Regions from separate parts of the Homo sapiens genome. Here regions 2, 3 and 4 are each linked to region 1. The links are contacts of gene promoters, found by promoter capture Hi-C in blood cells and fetal thymus (Javierre and others, 2016). All regions are on one chromosome and are shown on one strand. Each heading gives the region's core, a stretch centred on a gene start or on the middle of the fragment in contact. The rest is flanking DNA. Distances are from core to core; before and after follow the strand shown. Region 1 holds the start of UBQLN2 (ubiquilin 2). Region 2 has its middle 3.7 kb from the start of SPIN2B. Region 3 overlaps RRAGB (Ras related GTP binding B). Region 4 has its middle 3.4 kb from the start of FAAH2.

Evidence for each region. Contacts are between HindIII fragments. The CHiCAGO score rates a contact against its expected background, and 5 or more counts as called.
Region 2: a contact is called between a fragment that was not itself captured here and the fragment with the promoter of UBQLN2 in region 1, in 1 of 17 cell types (non-activated CD4 T cells). The highest score is 5.3, in non-activated CD4 T cells.
Region 3: a contact is called between a fragment that was not itself captured here and the fragment with the promoter of UBQLN2 in region 1, in 1 of 17 cell types (naive B cells). The highest score is 5.1, in naive B cells.
Region 4: a contact is called between a fragment that was not itself captured here and the fragment with the promoter of UBQLN2 in region 1, in 1 of 17 cell types (non-activated CD4 T cells). The highest score is 6.8, in non-activated CD4 T cells.

Annotation. Positions count from the first base shown.
Region 1 is chrX:56,562,177-56,564,876 of GRCh38, forward strand. It overlaps UBQLN2 (ubiquilin 2), which reads left to right and starts at 1,451. Exons shown (of 1, transcript NM_013444.4): 1 at 1,451-2,700. The coding sequence starts at 1,698. RefSeq lists enhancers at 1,154-1,781, 2,178-2,377, 2,388-2,447. The HindIII fragment of the contact is 11,191 bases long and covers 1-2,700 here.
Region 2 is chrX:57,116,396-57,119,306 of GRCh38, forward strand. No RefSeq gene overlaps it. Among named protein-coding and RNA genes, the nearest start is that of SPIN2B, 3.7 kb to the right of the region's middle. RefSeq lists an enhancer at 899-2,098. The HindIII fragment of the contact is 3,477 bases long and covers 1-2,911 here.
Region 3 is chrX:55,751,643-55,754,594 of GRCh38, forward strand. It overlaps RRAGB (Ras related GTP binding B), which reads left to right. Exons shown (of 10, transcript NM_006064.5): 7 at 1,750-1,872. Among named protein-coding and RNA genes, the nearest start is that of RRAGB, 35 kb to the left of the region's middle. The HindIII fragment of the contact is 4,544 bases long and covers 1-2,952 here.
Region 4 is chrX:57,281,910-57,284,754 of GRCh38, forward strand. It overlaps a transcript of FAAH2 not described here. Among named protein-coding and RNA genes, the nearest start is that of FAAH2, 3.4 kb to the right of the region's middle. The HindIII fragment of the contact is 2,573 bases long and covers 287-2,845 here.

The DNA of each region.
Region 1 (2,700 bases), core at 201-2,700:
GGGAAGAATTTTCTGTGTGGTTTAACCTAGAGTTAGAAATATATAGATAAATTTGAAATTATTTCTTCTATTTTTCAAGTTCTCTTTCTCAGCATTGCTACATCTTTATTGCTCTTACTTAATCTGTAATTAAATTAGGTAAATATGTCAATGTTTGCCACTACTATTATGTGCCTGTCAATTTCTACCCATACTCTTCCCCAAAATACCTTTCTGTAGTGCATACTTACAAAAATCATCAGAAAATTCAAAATCTTATGAAAATAGAAAATAAGAATTATTCATAATTTCAGCAAACAGTACTAACAGCCATTAACTTATTTGTGCATAGCCTTCCAGATTTTTTTACACATACGGTTTACATATACAACAAACTGTTCAAAAATTGCTTTTAAAATAAAAATATATTTATTGTATTTTTGATATTGGAACATATATTCTTATATAGTTTGTAACTGTACAGAAATATACAAAGGCATAATTGAAAATACTCTGTGATTTCCCTATAACTACAGTTTATTTCATGTATACCTTTAAAGACACTCTATATTTTCTTGTATGGTAATATGATAATGTGCTCAACTAATCTCATGTAAACAGATAGTTAATATATTTAAATAACATTTTAAAATGCTACAATGTATATACATTTTATACATAAATATTTTTGCATCCTCATCCGATTATTAGGCGAAGTGTCTAGGTTAGGCATTTCTAAATAAAGGTGGAAACATTCAAAATGCTGATATATATTTTCAAATTGCCCTATGGTTGTAACAATTCACACTTCAGCTAGCCTGAGAGGGCATTTTTTAGGGTCCCTGTCAACAAGAAGGTTTACCATTATTTTTTTCCCTGCCAATATGATAAGCCAAAAGTAGAATTTTATTGTTTTAACTTGATTTCTTTTTATTAGTAGTGAAATTAATCATCCTTTTTTAATGTCTATTGGCCATTTGCACTCCTTTTGTAAAATGCACGCTCCTGCTCTGTCTTCTTCCCTTCCCCTACTGGAGGTGTTCCTCTTTTCTTTTTGCTTTGTCAGAGTTCTTTATTATTCATTTTTCGTCTTATACGTGGGATCTGTTCGATTCAGGCTTTCACCCTTTTACTGCCTTACAGATTGCTAATATACATTCTCCATTGGTCTTTTAATGTCGTTTACAGAAGCTGACTCTCTACCGCCTCCTTCTCTCCGTCTCACCCTCTCTGCCTCGCCTGCTCTGTACTGTTCTGTTCTCTTCTCTCTCTCCCTTTGTTTCTCTCTCTCCCTTTTTTCTTTTCAGTGCAGAAGTTTTTAATTTTGACCGAGCCAAATCTATCAATCTAGGCCTGGCGCCGCGTCAGCAGAGGGGGCGGGGAGGCGAGCGCGGAACTGGGGGAGGGGAAGGGGCGGGGATCAGCAGGCGGAGCGGCTGCCAGAGTTGCTGGGAGTGCGCGCGGTCGGATCACAAGGCGGCGGCGGAGGAGGCCCAGAGACCGGAGCGCGGAGACCTCAGCCAGCGGCCTACGCCCAGGCCTTTCTCCACCGGAGGACCAGGGAACCGCAGTCTTCATCACAGAGGTACCGTGCTCCGCGCTCCCCGCCTGACCCGGCCCAGCCCGCTGCGGCGGTGCCTCCTTCCTTCCTCCTTCCCTCGCGCTCTCTCTTTCGCCCGCCCGCGCCTTCCCTGCCCGCCTGCGTCACCGCGGCCGCCATGGCTGAGAATGGCGAGAGCAGCGGCCCCCCGCGCCCCTCCCGCGGCCCTGCTGCGGCCCAAGGCTCGGCTGCTGCCCCGGCTGAGCCTAAAATCATCAAAGTCACGGTGAAGACTCCCAAAGAGAAAGAGGAGTTCGCGGTGCCCGAGAACAGCTCGGTTCAGCAGTTTAAGGAAGCGATTTCGAAACGCTTCAAATCCCAAACCGATCAGCTAGTGCTGATTTTTGCCGGAAAAATCTTAAAAGATCAAGATACCTTGATCCAGCATGGCATCCATGATGGGCTGACTGTTCACCTTGTCATCAAAAGCCAGAACCGACCTCAGGGCCAGTCCACGCAGCCTAGCAATGCCGCGGGAACTAACACTACCTCGGCGTCGACTCCCAGGAGTAACTCCACACCTATTTCCACAAATAGCAACCCGTTTGGGTTGGGGAGCCTGGGAGGACTTGCAGGCCTTAGCAGCCTGGGCTTGAGCTCGACCAACTTCTCTGAGCTCCAGAGCCAGATGCAGCAGCAGCTTATGGCCAGCCCTGAGATGATGATCCAAATAATGGAAAATCCCTTTGTTCAGAGCATGCTTTCGAATCCCGATCTGATGAGGCAGCTCATTATGGCTAATCCACAGATGCAGCAATTGATTCAGAGAAACCCAGAAATCAGTCACCTGCTCAACAACCCAGACATAATGAGGCAGACACTCGAAATTGCCAGGAATCCAGCCATGATGCAAGAGATGATGAGAAATCAAGACCTGGCTCTTAGCAATCTAGAAAGCATCCCAGGTGGCTATAATGCTTTACGGCGCATGTACACTGACATTCAAGAGCCGATGCTGAATGCCGCACAAGAGCAGTTTGGGGGTAATCCATTTGCCTCCGTGGGGAGTAGTTCCTCCTCTGGGGAAGGTACGCAGCCTTCCCGCACAGAAAATCGCGATCCACTACCCAATCCATGGGCACCACCGCCAGCTACCCAGAGTTCTGCAACTACCAGCACGA
Region 2 (2,911 bases), core at 380-2,879, 550 kb after region 1:
CTCCTTATAGCAGCTGTGCCTGACAAAGTAGTGACAGAGCTGCACTGTACCATTAGCAAGGCTTAGCATTTACTTTCGATTCTGTGTGGTATAATGGCTGCCTGTGTCTCATAACATTAAACTTCCAATGTTTTTGGCTGACTCAATTCTCAATATCAGGCAACAAAGTCCTACATAATAGCTAGGGGAGTTATCCAGAGGGGCAAACAACAATTTATCAATGAGTCTCTGGGTTGGTTTCTCATTCTCTAGAGATCACTTCATCAGTATTCTATACCCAATCCAGGCACTGAGTACAGAGACCAACTTGTCATGTATGGTTTTCACTGGGAATTTGTTTCTCTTAAGAAAATCTTCAAAAGAAGACCAGAAAATGTGGTGTTGTACTGGACTCATATTTATCTTCCACTGCACAGCATTATCAAATAGGAAAACATGCAGGGTATACCTGAAAACAGCCAGACCCAACTAATTTTCACCATGTCTACTACCATCAGGGTACTGAAACCCACCATTATCTGTAATCTACATAATTGGAATAGCCTACTAATTATTCTCCCTTTATTCATCATATACTAATAAAAACTATTCTGCAAGTTGTCAGAGTGATCCTGTAAAACTAAGACAAATCTTGTATGCCCTCCACTATAAATACATGGATGGCTCTGCATCACACTCAATGTAAAAGCCAAATTGCATTTTGAAACCTACAGGGCTATAAGCTGTCTGCCTCTCTCCCTCATCCCCATTACATCTCTGAAACCACCTCCTGCTTTTCTCTGCCTTGTTCACTCAGCTCCAGACATGATAACATCCTCCTTGCTCCTCAAACATGCCAGGCCTAAACCTGTCTTGGGGCCTCAGCACGTGCTGTCCCTCCATCTGGAATGCTCCTTCCCCAGACAGCTACAGGGTCAGTTCTCCCATTGCCTTCAGGTGAGACTCAAAAGCCAAGTTCTCAGTGAGGCCTTCCCTGGATACCTTGTCTATCTAGTTTCAGCTTCCCTCCTGAAATTTTCTATCCCAATTCCTTGCTTTATGTTTTTCTATTTAACACTAGACACTATGAAAATACATTATAATTGCTTACTTATTTTGGCTACTGTCTGTCCCCCACACTAAAATGAAACCTCCATGAGGATAAGAATTTTAGTTTGCTTTTTTGTTCATTATTACATTATCAGTATCTGTGCCTAGAAGAGTGCCTGGCAGAGAGCCCACCTGAAGTAAGTATTTGTGGGGTAAAGATAAAACAAGTAAATTAAAAAGCAAATGGGATCAAAGCAAGTCAAAGGGGCAGTTTTTCCAGGGTGTGGCCCCAGTTACAAGTGCAAACGCTTCCAGGGAACGACTGTGCATTTTATTAGAGTAAAGCAGGCCAGCTGGGGGTGTGGCCAACTGGAGAGGGTATTCGGAGTCTAAACTGGACTGAGACCTACCTAAGGCCCAGCTGCATGTATCCTTTTTGGAATGAGGGCCCTGATCCTCACATTTTTGTTGTTGTTGTCATTCTGTTTCAATTTCAGGAGATGCCAGAGACATAAATTTTCATCGTGTGAAATCTCTCAAATGTCTAAAGTACCTAATTAAAAATAGAAAACAATAAAAACACAAAGATGAAAATAACCTGGCAGCTGTCTGAGACTGGTTCCTGGGCACCTTGCTGGATTTTGTTGGACGAAATTGTGTGATGTACACAAGAAAATTAATCCTTGCTACGGTGAGGTAGGCTTGCCTTGTGTAATTCTTGAGGCAGTCAGCCTCAGGCCATGTTGGGTGGAGAGAATAAACTCTATTTACCACCTTCTTTCAACTCCTGGAAGCTCCTTGCATCTCCCACTATGCATGGAGTTAGGGTAACCTGGGCAGCAGGGAGTCACCAGCACTCTTTCTTGGGGTCAGAGGTATAATTTAGTGAACGGTGTGGTTGCAGAAAGCAGTGAGAGGGTTTTCAGATGGGCTACAGGAGAAAGACTTGGGAAAGGCAAGGAGGGGAGGAAGAGAAAGACACAGATCTATCTTTGCATCAGACACCATAGTTCTGAGGGACTTTTTGTGGGTTGCTGCTCCCTCTCCCCACCAGCCTTGACCCTTTTTTGTGACATTATACAGCTGAATGAGTTAGTTATACCAAGTCACAACTCCCAGCCCAACTGCCCCATGGCATCTGCCTCACCTGGAAACAAAGAGCTGACCAGAATTCCATCACAGGTCTCTGTGAGCTGGGGTAGGCAAGACTGGCCAACAGGTGCCTGTGAGGGGTCTGCAGACACCAGCTTTGTGGGGAAGGTCTAACCAGAATGTGGATTCTTGGGACAGCAGGCCTCTTTTAGTGGATTATTTGTCGGAACCACCTGTGGTTTCAGGCAGCTGCTGAAAGAAGTGTGGACAGTCAGGAACTCCCCATAACCTGGAGAGAAACACTAGGCTCAATCTTCTGATGCCCCTCGTCTCTAGATAGAAAACAAACATTCCAGCAGAAGGAACCGGTGTGATGAGACTGCTGTACCTGAGTTCAGTAAGGTTCCATTTTTTTCTGGGTAAAGTACTTTCCAAATGCAAGATGGCACATCTCTTAAGTTCTGACCCACTAACCCATCCTCTACCAATATTGTTTATCTAGCGCAGGACAAATGTGAGGAGGCAGCCCGCAGCCCAGCACATGTGGGGAACCGTGTTAGTGTGTTCAGGCTGAGGGTTGGGGTTCTGCTGGGTAGGAGCGTCCTGAACTCCCTGAAACAGGAAAAGCCTTACGGGTATAAACTTTCCTCCTGATTAACCTTACTGAGTCATCCTTGTCAGAATGCCCTTCTAGGGAACCTCCAATGTATCTGGCATCTTTGACAGATGCCACTTCCTTTGTGCATAGAGCCAGGAAGAGCAATGTGGACACTACCAGAAGTCCAACATT
Region 3 (2,952 bases), core at 226-2,725, 810 kb before region 1:
GACATGTTATGCCTAGCATATGGTATAATAGCTTCAACTTTCATGCCAAATTGGAGACAAGCATTCTTTCAACCAGAAGTACTGTTCCCATTGCTGGAATGGATACCACACTGCTTACACTAATTATGGAGGTTACAACAATAGCTTTGTTATGGATGAAGCTGAAATTACCTTATTGGCACATAGGCTCCTTATTCTGATTCCTCCCTTTCTCCTACTGATCTAGTTATTTGAAGGACTAGGTCCTTTTGGATCCTTCTGTAGTTAGCCCTTCCCTTCAGACTGCTTCTGGTATCCATTGACAAGTCTGACTCTGGGTAGGAAAGCACCCTTCTCTGTCACTGGTAGCTACAGCCTCAGTATCAACAGCATCTGACAAGTATCTACAACCAGAAGCACAGAAACCTGATGTGGCAAGGAGAAAAACCATTGGACTTTTAAATAGCCATTGCTTTTTTTTTTTTTAACTAATTCATTTTCCCCAATATTATGTTGACCCAGCCTCACTCTAATAACAGATCATTTTGAGATACCTGTCTAGGAAATACTGTTCTAGATTAATATGGGCCGAATTTCTCTCAAAGCCTTATTCCCATAGAACAGGTAACCGTGAATAAGGATGGACATGACGCACTGATAAGAACCAACTGCGGTGTGAAGGATGGCAATACATAACACGACCAAAGACAATTGGCTAATCACAACACTGCTGTGAGTGACAATGTCTCTGCTGTGGTTAGCTTTGGTGCCTTCTCCAAGGTAAATTCAGCAGTGACATTAACACCGACCTGGGAACTTGGAACCTGAACCCTCATGCCTAAGTAATAAAACTAATTGGAACAGAGACATGGCACTTCTGTCTCTTACATCAATGTTGCATAGAGCTAACTTAAATTTTTATATTAAGTTTTATTCAACAAGCACTCTTTACATACCTGCTTGATGCTGTTGGATACACAAATGACTAAGACCAGGTTCCTGCCCTCTTGTAGGGGAGAGAAGAACAAAGTACACCTTACCAGACAAATTGGAGTGAGAGTGAAGGAAGTATTATAATGAAAATACAAATAAAAGAGCCTACAAGAATAGAGGGAGAGTGTGGTTAATTTCAACTGCTTACATTAGTCATACTCCTGGATGAAGTCAGTTTTAGGCAAAAACACAGTAGACCATTTTGAATTCAATTGGATCAATAATTTATATGGATAACAACAAACCTTTGGGAATGATAATGCCACTAGTTTCTCTTTTAATGGTATATTATTCTATTGAGGGGAGGGGCCATTTGTCTATGTGGCTCTGCTACTTTCATAAAATTGATTCTTAGGTATATGTTAAATATAGCATAATTAGGTTCTGATCTTTAGAGAAATCTACACTGTTGGACTTAAATATTTGTGACTAGATTAGGAGCTTTTTAACAAAGTAGATCATATTTTTCAACTTTTTTCCTAAGGCAACATGATGGCATTAAATATTTGTTTGCTTTCAATTATCAATGGAAAGAAGTTTCTCCAGCATTTTACAAAAGTGTTTGAACTTAAAAAAAATTCAACTCAAGGGTAAAAATCAGATGCTAGCTTCATTTTCTCATTTCATTTGTGTTATATCATATTTAATGTCAGTATTTGTTTGGGACTGGATTATCATCATATTTTGCTGTCCACATATTATAGTGTACTTACTAATTTCAAAGGTCTGGGACTGACTAGCTGTTAATAATAGTACACTGTGTTTCTGTTCTGTTAGGCTTGGTCCAGCATAGTTTATCAGCTGATTCCCAATGTTCAGCAGCTGGAAATGAACCTAAGGAATTTTGCTGAAATTATCGAAGCTGATGAAGTACTTCTTTTTGAGAGAGCTACTTTTCTGGTAAGAACTTTCTGCTTTGCAGATGTACTTCACACTGTACGTTCTTTGTTTTCAGCAACAGAGAACAGCATGTCACTACTTTCAGGAAGAACCTTTTTCCCTCTTGTCAACTTTAGCATGTACAGACTTATTTATAAAATAGTATTGTCAGCAAGTGACCTGAAAGAAGCCCTTTGGTGTGTAGCTCTTTGGAAGTTAGTGAAACTTAGATTTTTCCAGGTATGTATTATTAGAGAGTTCAGATTGTTGGCTGGGCATGGGGGCTCACGCCTGTAATCCCAGCACTTTGGGAGGCCGAGGCGGGTGGATCACCTGAGGTCGGGAGTTAGAGACCAGCCTGACCAACATGGAGAAACCCCGTCTCTACCAAAAAATACAAAATTAGCCAGGTGTGGTGACGCATGCCTATAATCCCAGCTACTTGGGAGGCTGAGGCAGGAGAATCGCTTGAACTCGGGAGGCGGAGGTTGGGGTGAGCTGAGATCATGCCATTGCACTCCAGCCTGGGCAACAAGAGCGAAACTCCATCTCAAAAAAAAAGAGAGTTCAGATTATTTATGCTAGTAACTGTTCATTTATGTTAAAGGATTCCTATTTCCTGTGGACTTTTATTATGAAATGTGGGATATTTTCCTTTTGAGAAAACTCACATCCTATCCTTTTCTCTAAAAGACTCATTGAAAACTTTTAATGTAGAAGAGATGTTATGGTCATCTCAGTGACATAGGAGTTCACATGAAGAAGTGGAGAGGGAAAGAGGCATGTTGGTATTTTTATTTTTCTTGTAAATTGAACTTAGCAACTATATTAGAGCCTATTGTTTGTATAACCCTGAAAGGGGGATGCAAAAACCAGTATTGTATTTGTAAATACATTTTAAAAATAGCAATAATAGAAACTAAGGTGTCACAACACACTGCATAAGTAATTGCTAATTAGCCTTGGTAAATGTAACTCTAAGAGCAGTTCCCAGTAAATAATTTGTTTCTGAGCCCTGCCAATGCTTGGTGATTTTAGAAACAATTCTTAATCTCTAGGGGCTTGTTTTCCTTCTACAAATATCTATATCATAGATTTATT
Region 4 (2,845 bases), core at 323-2,822, 720 kb after region 1:
TATGGCTGTGTAGTATTCCATGGTGTATATGTACCACATTTTTGTTATCCAGTCTAATGTTGATGGGCATTTCGGTTGATTACATGTCTTTGTTATTGTGAATAGGGCTGCAAAGAACATACAGATGCATGTATTTTTGTGGTCGAACAATTTATATTCCTTTGTGTGTATACCCAGTAATGAGATTGCTTGGTCAAATGGTAATTCTTCTTTCAGTTCTTTGAGAAATAAACAAAATGCCTTCCACAATGGTTGAACTAACTTATATCGCCTATAGCAGTGTATAAGCTTTCCCTTTTCTGTACAACCTCACCAGCATGTGTTAGTTTTTTGACATTTTAATAATAGCCATTCTGACTATGTGAGATGGTATCTCTTCGTGGTTTTGATTTACATTTCTCTGACGATTAGTGATGATGAGCATTTTTTTAATGTTTTTTGGCCACTTGTATGTCTTCTTTTCAGAAGTGTCTGTTTATGTTTCTTGCTCACTTTTTAATGGGGTTATTTGTTTATTGCTTGTTAAGTTTCTTAGAGATTGTGGATATTAGATCTTTGTTTGATGTTTGTGAATATTTCCCCCATTCTGTAGGTTGTCTGTTTACTCCGTTGATGGTTTCATTCTTTCTGTGTGGGTTGATGTTCCTTCAACTGTAGTGTAATATGAGTATAATCAGTTGACTTCTTTTCTGAATGTTTTCAGCAGTCTAAGCATTTTTGCAGGATCTTTATTTGTAGCTTAGTTCTTGTCCTTGGTTTCACTGGGGGATATATTAACAGTATTTTCGGTGTTGAAATTTGGTTGTAATCCACTAGATGGTGCTTAAATGTAATGGTTAATAGGTACGCTCTTGCTTAGCCATGTGGCTCGCCTGTATTTCCTCATGATTGCCATCAAATTTTCTGTTACTGTTCTGAAAGTGTAGGCTCCTCTCCCACAGAAGTGCTGTCTGTAGACCTCTGTTTGGCACTTGCGAGCTGTACAGCACAACCTTGTGGTGAGCTCATCTTTATTTTCCTTCCCCACTTTTGAGGCAGCAGGGGACAAGACCTTGGCAGTGGCTATGGCAGAGGGTCTTTCCCGTGTCTTTTGGTGCTCTACCCTAGAGAAATTCAGAGCGGATATCAACTGGTGCAATCAGTCAAGGGTGGGGCAGCTGCGTTTTTGGCCCAAGCCATGGGAACCTGCCTGGGGATGGGAAGGGGATTGCGGAGGGAACAGACCAGCCTCTTCTCCTTATGGTGGCTGTGGCTTTCTGGAGGTGTGGTTAAAGCACTGTGCGTCTTTGCTTCTTTCCCAGTCTGAGGGCAGCAAGGGCACTACCATTGCAGTGGCAGGGGCAGAAAGGCTTTTGGTTGTCTCTGGGACCTCCATCTCAGAAAAAAACACAGAGTCACTGCTACTGGGGATGTTCAGCCAGGGGGTGAGGCAACTGTGCTGTTGGCCTGAGGTGGGGACCCCGCTTGGGGAAGAGTCGGGGTTCGAGGGATAACAGGGAGGAGAGAGTGGGCTCTTCTTTGTATGGTGACTGTGTCTTGCTAGAAATGTGAGTAAAGCCCTCAGGATCTTCATTTCTTCTCCAGCCTGAGGGCAGCAGGGGAAGAACCACTGCAATGGCAGTGGCAGAGGGGCTGTCAGTTGCCTCTGGGAGCCCCTCCCCCAGGGAAATACAAAGCCACTAGCAGAGGGAATGCTCTGCCAAGGGTGGGACGTCTGTGTAGATCCAGGCTTGGGGCCCTGCTTGGTGAAGAGTGTGGGGTGGGAGCCTACATGGAAGAGAGACTGGGCTCCTCTCTGTATGGTGGCTGCAGCGTGCTGGAGGCTCCAGTGTAGCAACTCGACCTTTTGTTTTATTCCCTGGCCTGAATGCAGCAGAACAGTACCACTGCAGCTGCAATGGCAGAGAAGCTGTGGGTTGTCTCTGGGATTTCCTCCTCAGAAACGCAGAGCTGCTACCGAGTAAAGTGTTTATGTGGAAGCAGAGTGATTGTGCTTGGGGCCCAGGTCAAGAGGCACTGCTCAGTGAAGAGCAGCGGAGGTGGGGACACACGTGAAAACAGTCTGGCCGCTTTTCCTTTAAGGTGACTGCGCTGTGCTGTGGGTTCGCGTCAGTCCCCAACTTCTATACTACCTCCAGAGCCTGATGAGAACATGAGCGTGGAAAAACGTCAGCTTGCCTGCTCCCTCTGGGAGCTCTGTCCCAGGGAAGTGTGGAGCTGCTTCCAGCCTGAGAACTCAGGCAGGGCTGGGGTAGCCTTGTTAGTGTCCCAAGCTAATGGGCCTTATCCTGCGGCGTGCCCGGGAAGAAAGCCTGCAATCTGGGCATGGTGGTGGGTGCTTATAATACCAGCTACTTGGAAGGCTGAGGCAGGAGAATCACTTGAACCCGGGAGGCAAAGGTTGCAATGAGCCAAGATGGTGCCACTGCACTCCAGTGGCGCTCCAGCCTGGGCGACAGAATGAGACACCATATCATAACAAAACAAAACAACAACAACAACAACAACAACAACAAAACCTGGAATATTATTCAGCTTTTAAAAAGCAGGAAATTTAACATTTATTTTAAAGATAAATCTTAATGGTCTTATGATAAGTGTAATAAGTCCATCATAAAAAGTATGAATCCACTTATACGAGTTAGCTAAAGTAGTTGCACTTTTAAAAAGAGAAAATAGAATGGCATTTGTAAAGGGCCAGTCAATGGGGAAAACAGGTAGTCGATTCATGTATAGTATGTATTCATTTTGCAAGATAAAAATGTTCTGGTGATATGTTGCCAACAATGGCAATATACTTAACATGGTCTAACTATTAATATAAAATTAAAATATTTAAGATTGT